Linked DNA regions of Homo sapiens: region 1 is linked to region 2. The links are contacts of gene promoters, found by promoter capture Hi-C in blood cells and fetal thymus (Javierre and others, 2016). All regions are on one chromosome and are shown on one strand. Each heading gives the region's core, a stretch centred on a gene start or on the middle of the fragment in contact. The rest is flanking DNA. Distances are from core to core; before and after follow the strand shown.

Region 1 (4,058 bases), core at 616-3,115, 500 kb after region 2:
TTTACTGATAGGGAAAAAGATCTCCATATAAATGAAATTTCCAGGTATTTGAAGAGTAACCAACTGAGAACTAAAACATTTTAACTTTGAGCCTTTGGGAAGGGCTCTTTCCAAATGGTAGTATACATCTGTGCACTTTTCTAAGACTAGGAAATGACAGGATGATTTAGGGTCACCAGTAGGAACACCATTTATCATATGGACTAGACACAGTGATGATGTCAGTGGCAAGATACTAGAGTGGACAGAGTCTGAGCTTTGAAGTCGCCCTGACCAGCTTTGAATTCCAGCTGCCTCCTAGCAGCTATACAATCTTGTAGGAGTGACCTAACCTCTCAGCCTCAGTTTCCTTATATATAAAATGGGGGTAATAATTCTTACCTCCTGGGGTCATTGTGAGGATTAAATGAGATAATATGTATCTATTAGATACATAGTGTGTACATAAAACTTTCAGCAGCATACCTGACAAATAGAATGTGCTCACATCATTATTATCAACAATACAAAAAAGTCAGCTGTTGTCGTTATTGTCCCTACAATAATGCTACGCTAACTATCCCAAGATTGTTATTTTCATCGTAAGGACATGGAGTTCATTGGGTTTTATATCCATTTGTGTTTTTTTTAAATGTTTGCTTTTTAGGGGGCGGGGGTGGTCTGGTTACTTTCTTGCTGCAGCTCTCTTCCTGTGTGGGAGTACTTGCCAAAACATGACTTCCCCATCCTTTCTCATTCCATTCATTTATCCAACATGCATTGGTGACACAATGCAATGTGAGAAAACACATGCCAGAAGAGTCCCAAATACAATGTTTTGAGAACTGAGAGGAAAGGGGGATGAATAAATGAAGAATGGATGCATGAGCGTGTCACAAATGAAGAAATTGACAGGAAGGCCATAAGAGCAAGGGGCAAACACCAGAGCGCTTTCCATATGCCTGATAGAGTCTTCCCAAAAGCACACACCTCATTTTCCATTGTCATCAAATATCAGCATACACCATCATAGGGTTTGCCTTTGGCATGAATGATCTGGAAGAATCTCGGAGGTCCTCAAGCCCCTACCCTTCAAGATGCAGTAATGGAAACATTGGTGTCTCAAACCCAACAGGTCCAAAGTACGTATGTGTCACATTCACGGCCAAAGCAGCCCCTCTTCCCTCTATGCCTATTTCATATGCTGATGATACATCCAGGAAGACTGCAACAAATCTGAGAGGCATTGGGAATCGAAATTTCCACTGCCTCCCACCTCCAGTTATCCCAGTGCAGATAACTCCAAGCAGGGACGACCAGATGAGTGGATCCTCAGCACACAGGCTGAGGATGACCATCAGACAACTAGGAACAGCCAACACCTTGAACTGGAGGTACTCCAAGAGTTGTGTTTTTAATTTTTGATGTTAGTTGTAAGATGCATTCCTTTAGAGCTATTAATTATGTAAGTAATAGTAGACAAACATGGACCCTGAGGAAGGGAACCAAGGGAAGGGGGCCTGAATTTTCTGCTCTTTTGGGCGGGTGATGACTCCAAGTCATTACAATCTAGATGCATCCTTATTTTGCAGCCACAGCTTGCTGAGATCTGAGCACATAATCAGATACACTGACATGGATGTTACCGTGTGGACAAGGAATGAGCAACCTTGAAAAATGTATTTTTCTATATGCTGTTTTGGTTTTAAGATCTTGAGAAAGAAGTCCAGGAATTCACAAGCTTGAAAAGGAGATGCTGAGGCCACTGTGAAGACTTGAATACTTTTGCCTTGGAGGCAGTCCCAGGCCCACCACTCTCAGCAAAGGTCTCCTCCTGCCCTTTCCCAGATCTAACACAGGACAGCAGGCGGAGAGGAACCACCCCCTTTTCCTTCTCACTATTCTGGCTCTTGTTAGAGTGACAGTGGGATGGGAACTAGGACTCTTTGTCATTGCCAGGGGTTGCCTTGAAGGACTGGAGTCTGAGAGTAAGCAAACTTTATGACCCACAAAAAAAAAACCAGCTTCAGGAAAGCTTAATGGAGTTCCTGGTGTGAACTTAGAAGCAAGGTTTGATAATTAATTCTGACCTGGCTATTTGTGAATAAACAAAGATTAATACAGTGATTTCCATTTTGCTGAGTATTTTTCGGCCTCTGAACAGGACGGTCACATGGTTTTGCTCTTGTTTGCATGAAGCGAAATTCTGGGGTCCTCTCAATAAACCCACAAGAGTTTCTATCTCATAATGAGAGCTGGCTTCTTGTGTTTTTGAGGCAGAATTTTGACAGTGTTTCTTGTGCATTCTTCACCATCATTTGGAGCCACCACCTTGGCAACGTCTGTAGACAAGGAGATAAGGGACTCTCAAATCTATCCTTGAAGAGGAAGTGGCCCCAGAGTTCCGATAAAATCCTGCCGTATACGGGCTGTATAAAAGCAATTTGACCACTTGCGATTTTGAGTCTTAAGAATCTTTCAATTTCTCAGCCTCTGGCAGGAGTAAGAGAATAATATCCTGGATGTTTATAAAATTCGATAACCTTTTAAATCCATCCCACTTGAAGGAATAGCTAGATTTCTGGACCCCCATTTTCTGAGGCTTTCCAGGATGGACGCATGCTATCAGCTCCCCCTGCAGGTCTGACTCTTTCCTGACAGGGAATTCCTGGAGGTCCACTGAGAAAATGGATTCTGGAAGGGCTCTAAATTGTGTCGCACAGACGAAATGCTTCGACTGCTTGGAAATGACCCACCTTTCTGCTGGAAGCCACATGTCCTGGGAATGCACCAAAGTCTGAATCTGTCAGTACCTTACTATGCTGCAGGAAAACAAAGTCCCACCCAGAACTCCAGTGCCCAGGCAGGACCTTCCTTGCGCTAAACGCGCTTTAGAATGTTCAATTCTCTCTCTTCTTTGTAAGCACTGTGGCCCTGTGGTAAATCCATCACAGATAAAATGGCCTCTACATGAGCCATGTGCTAAAAAAGGATACGTACACCCATTGTGTGTTGAGTCTAAAAGTTGTTTCTCAAAAAGTTTTGGATTGTCCCAAATTTTATATGTGAGTTTGCTGATTCAGTCATTCAATAAATATTGTGATAGACATTCTGCTATGTGATTGATATGCGATAGACATTGTTTTAGGCACCCTGGATAAAGCAAGGGACCAAGGCAGGCTAAGACCCCATCCTCATGGAGCTTCAGGAACAGCAGTGACGACATACAGTAAACAAGTGCATGAACATGTGTGGTGTGATTTCATGTGGAGATGGTGCTATAAAGAAGAGTAAAACAGGATAGGCTGGGCATGGTGGCTCACGCCTGTAATCCCAGCACTTTGGGAAGATGAGGCAGACAGATCACTTGAGGTCAGGAGTTTGAGACCAGCCTGGCCAACATGGTGAAACCCCATCTCTACGAAAAAATACAAAAAAATTAACCAGGCATGGTGGCACATCCCTGTAGTACCAGTTACTTGGGAGGCTGAGACAGGAGAATCACTTGAATCTGGGAGGTGGAGGTTGCAGTGAGCTGAGGTCGCACCACTGCACTCCAGCCTAAGCAACAGAGTGAGACTCTGTCTAAAAAAAAAAAAAAAAAAAAAAAAAAAGCTGGGTGCAGTGGCTCATGCCTGTAATTCCAGCACTTTGGGAAGCCAAGGTGGGCAGATCACAAGGTCAAGAGATTGAGACCATCCTGGCCAATATGGTGAAACCCCATCTCTACTAAAAACACAAAAATTAGCTGGGTGTGGTGGTGGGCACATGTAATCCCAGCTACTGGGGAGGCTGAGGCAGGAGAATCGCTTGAACCCGGAAGGCAGATGTTGAGCTGAGATTGTGCCACTGCACTTCAGCCTGGTGACAGAGCAACACTCCATCTCAAAAAAAAAAAAAAAAAAAGAGTAAAGCAGGATAAAGAATTGGAGTGATTGGGGTGTACTCTTTTTGAAAGACTGGTCAAGGTAGGTTCAGTTAGAAACCTACATAAAGGAAGACAACAACCAACCCATGTGAAGATGTGGGTGGAGAGCATTTCAGGAGAGGAGGCGGCAAGTGCAAATGACCTGAGATGG
Region 2 (4,372 bases), core at 393-2,892:
CCCAGCTCCACAGAGTGATCTCGGCAGGTTACCTGACATCTTGTTTCCTTAGGGGTTGCTGGGAAATTAAATGACAAAAATGCAAAGCACTCAGAGACTGCACTCCGATGCCCATGGAGAATAAGTGGCAACTCTTATTATTACTCAACCTTTCTGAGCCTCGATTTCCTACTCTGTAGTAGCATGTCATTGTCTGATGCTAAATGGAAATGAAGTAAAATTTGTAAAACGAAGTTTCACTAAATAATACTTCATGTGATGTATTCTAATATATTCTGTTTTATGCTAACTCATTAAAGAAAAAAGAATACTGTCAGTGACCCAGTAAATTGATTTCATAATCCATTAACGGACATGTCCTTAAGTTTTAAAAAACCCAGCCTACAGAATACATTTTTAAATAGACTTTATATTTTAGAGCACAATTCAACAGAAAGTACAGAGAATTCCCACATGCCCCCTGTCTCCACAGCTCTCCCCTGCGCATCAACATCTCACACAGGGTGGGACACTTGTCATGGTGGACCACCCCACATGGACACGTCATCATCGCCCAGCACCGAGTTTGCATTAACATTCGCTCCTGGTGGTGAACATTCTATGGATTTTGACCATTGCATAACGACACATATCCGCCATTATGGTACGTTTCACTGCCCTAAAAATCCTCTGCTCTGCCTATTCATTCTTCCCTCCAGAATATTTTTAACACGATCTCGAGGCCATAGATGATATCAGTAATTTGCAGTATTGATGATAGTGGTGAACCGGAGGAGAGAGACACTGTTAGGAAGCTGCTGTAGTGGTTCAGGTGAGTGAGGACAGAAGGACAGCTGTGGCTGCAAAGGCTGGAAGAGAGGAGGGTGTGGGACACTGGTCAGGAAGAGACAGGCCTTGGTCAAGGAGTGAGGAACGGGGAAGCAGGAGCCACTGGACCCTAGGGGTCTGGAAGCTAGTGGCCTTGGTGTGGGACTGCAGAGAGATAGGAGGTGCCAGACGGCAGGGACTTCAAGGCAGAATTGAAATCTGCTGAACAGCAGGCGTCGGTCAGCTGGGACAGCCGGAAAGCTCGGGATCAGGAGGCGGTCAAGCTGAGCTCTGCTCTCATTCCGCCGCGTGACCTTGGGCAAGTCCCTTCCCTTCTACAGGAGGCTGGACTAGATGTCCTCCTTGTACAGCGTTGCGGGGAAGGTGAGACAGTGCCACCAACACAGCAGGGCATTGCTGGGTCGGGGGGATGGGGCAGGAAACGCTTCAAGGATCAGGCAGGATTTTCCTCCCACCAGGAAAAGCCGGCGCGGGTCTAAGGCCGGAGGAGGGACCCAGACATAGGAGTCACCTTCTAAGGGGCTTCCTGGAGCACATTTTCCTGCCCAGCAACAGGCGGCAGCATTCTCTCCCCACTAATCCTCTCCAAACAGCAGTGAGAGAGAATGCCTGCCGCTTCAAGCCAGGTCGCAACCCCTCGGTGACCCGCTGCGCCCGAGGAGGGGCCGGCGGTGCGCGGTGGTGGCGGCGGGCGCGGCAGCTGTGCCCGTCTGCCCAAGGGTTAATCCGTCCCCTGCAGCTGCCGCGCGTGCCTTGCAGAATTTCACCAGAAGAGGGTACAGTTTGAAAAGCTCCTGACGTCAGGCTGGAATTCCTATTGTGTTTAGAAAAGGCTCGGGCAAAGCCAGCCCAAGTTCGCTCTCTGCACACCTCGAGCACCTCGCGGACGGCGTGGGTCCGCCAGCTCCGGGACCTGCCGCCGCTGCCTGCGCGCCCCGGGGCGGAGGACGGTGCCAGCCGCCCACGAGGAGACCCCGCTCCCGCAGGAGGCCGAGCTGAAGCGGCGGAGCGCGCCGCCAGCCAGCCGGGGTGAGTGCCCCGGGCGAGGCCGGCGGCCGCCAAAGCCCCCGCGGGCTCGCCCGGGCGCCCGGATGCCAGCCCCGAGCCCCGCCGCCGGGTGCATGCCTCCCCCGCGGCGCGCCCCCGCAGGCTGCTGCCCGCTGTGACCGCCCTTCCCCGCAGGCGGGCGCCGGCCAGGCTCTCCCCGAGATCAGCGCACGGGTGGCACCCGCCGGACCCCCAGCGGCAGCGGCGGCGGCGGCTGCAGGGGGCGCGGGGCGGAGGCTGCGAGGGCGCGCGCGGGGAGGATGGACGGGTCCGGGGAGCGCAGCCTCCCGGAGCCGGGCAGCCAGAGCTCCGCTGCCAGCGACGACATAGAGATAGTCGTCAACGTGGGGGGCGTGCGGCAGGTGCTGTACGGGGACCTCCTCAGTCAGTACCCTGAGACCCGGCTGGCGGAGCTCATCAACTGCTTGGCTGGGGGCTACGACACCATCTTCTCCCTGTGCGACGACTACGACCCCGGCAAGCGCGAGTTCTACTTTGACAGGGACCCGGACGCCTTCAAGTGTGTCATCGAGGTGTACTATTTCGGGGAGGTCCACATGAAGAAGGGCATCTGCCCCATCTGCTTCAAGAACGAGATGGACTTCTGGAAGGTGGACCTCAAGTTCCTGGACGACTGTTGCAAGAGCCACCTGAGCGAGAAGCGCGAGGAGCTGGAGGAGATCGCGCGCCGCGTGCAGCTCATCCTGGACGACCTGGGCGTGGACGCAGCCGAGGGCCGCTGGCGCCGCTGCCAGAAGTGCGTCTGGAAGTTCCTGGAGAAGCCCGAGTCGTCGTGCCCGGCGCGGGTGGTGGCCGTGCTCTCCTTCCTGCTCATCCTCGTCTCGTCCGTGGTCATGTGCATGGGCACCATCCCCGAGCTGCAGGTGCTGGACGCCGAGGGCAACCGCGTGGAGCACCCGACGCTGGAGAACGTGGAGACGGCGTGCATTGGCTGGTTCACCCTGGAGTACCTGCTGCGCCTCTTCTCGTCACCCAACAAGCTGCACTTCGCGCTGTCCTTCATGAACATTGTGGACGTGCTGGCCATCCTCCCCTTCTACGTGAGCCTCACGCTCACGCACCTGGGTGCCCGCATGATGGAGCTGACCAACGTGCAGCAGGCCGTGCAGGCGCTGCGGATCATGCGCATCGCGCGCATCTTCAAGCTGGCCCGCCACTCCTCGGGCCTGCAGACCCTCACCTATGCCCTCAAGCGCAGCTTCAAGGAACTGGGGCTGCTGCTCATGTACCTGGCAGTGGGTATCTTCGTCTTCTCTGCCCTGGGCTACACCATGGAGCAGAGCCATCCAGAGACCCTGTTTAAGAGCATCCCCCAGTCCTTCTGGTGGGCCATCATCACCATGACCACCGTCGGCTACGGCGACATCTACCCCAAGACCACGCTGGGCAAGCTCAACGCGGCCATCAGCTTCTTGTGTGGTGTCATCGCCATCGCCCTGCCCATCCACCCCATCATCAACAACTTTGTCAGGTACTACAACAAGCAGCGCGTCCTGGAGACCGCGGCCAAGCACGAGCTGGAGCTGATGGAACTCAACTCCAGCAGCGGGGGCGAGGGCAAGACCGGGGGCTCCCGCAGTGACCTGGACAACCTCCCTCCAGAGCCTGCGGGGAAGGAGGCGCCGAGCTGCAGCAGCCGGCTGAAGCTCTCCCACAGCGACACCTTCATCCCCCTCCTGACCGAGGAGAAGCACCACAGGACCCGGCTCCAGAGTTGCAAGTGACAGGAGGGCCCCTCAGGCAGAGATGGACCAGGCGGTGGACAGATGGGTAGATGTGGCAGGCATGTCATCGACAGCACAGAAGGGCTGTCCTGTGTCCCCCCAACCCTCCCCTGGACAGACTCTGAAGGCCCTCCCGGCACCTCTGCCAAGGCTGGGTAAGACTCCTCTATGTTGCCTGCTGTCCAGGAGCCCGGGAGGGAGGGGTGTGCAGGAGCCGCAGGGCCGTGTGGGACGAGTGGAGGCCGCGGCCTGGCTGGCACGAGAGCCCACGCCCGCTTCTGTATCTCCCTCAATAAAGCCTCCTGCTCTGTGCACCCTCCGTGTTGTAGGTTCTGTCACAGGCTGGCTGTCACCCCCAAGAGTAGCTCAGGCACACTTCAGTGCCAGGCCAGGAGGTAGGTGTGCAGCCGGGTGGTGGGGGAGTTATTTTTAGTGGGAACTAATTAAAGAAGGGCTCATAGTCAGGTTCGGCGCCAAGGAGCCTTACCACATTCCTGGAGGCTCTGCAGGCCGTGCTTCCCTGCTGCTTCCTTCTGGGGTAAAGCTTGCTCCCCCTGCAGGCCCAGGATGGGGGAGAGTTCACAGTGCACGCCCAGCAGCCTGCAGCATTTAGTTATCACGTGCACCGGGCCCTTTTCACAACCTCTTTCTATTCCTTCCATTGACCCTACTAGCTAGGTATCTCCATTTTACAGATGAGGAAACTGAGGCCCAAGGTCACACAGAGAAGGGAACAATCCCAGGTCTGATGA

Evidence for each region. Contacts are between HindIII fragments. The CHiCAGO score rates a contact against its expected background, and 5 or more counts as called.
Region 1: a contact is called between a fragment that was not itself captured here and the fragment with the promoter of KCNF1 in region 2, in 1 of 17 cell types (non-activated CD4 T cells). The highest score is 5.5, in non-activated CD4 T cells.

Annotation. Positions count from the first base shown.
Region 1 is chr2:11,409,585-11,413,642 of GRCh38, forward strand. All of the region lies in intron 2 of LOC105373429 (a long non-coding RNA gene), which reads left to right. Among named protein-coding and RNA genes, the nearest start is that of LINC00570, 18 kb to the left of the region's middle. The HindIII fragment of the contact is 294 bases long and covers 1,719-2,012 here.
Region 2 is chr2:10,910,292-10,914,663 of GRCh38, forward strand. KCNF1 (potassium voltage-gated channel modifier subfamily F member 1) reads left to right here and starts at 1,643. Exons shown (of 1, transcript NM_002236.5): 1 at 1,643-3,934. The coding sequence starts at 2,136. The coding sequence ends at 3,620. The HindIII fragment of the contact is 10,094 bases long and covers 1-4,162 here.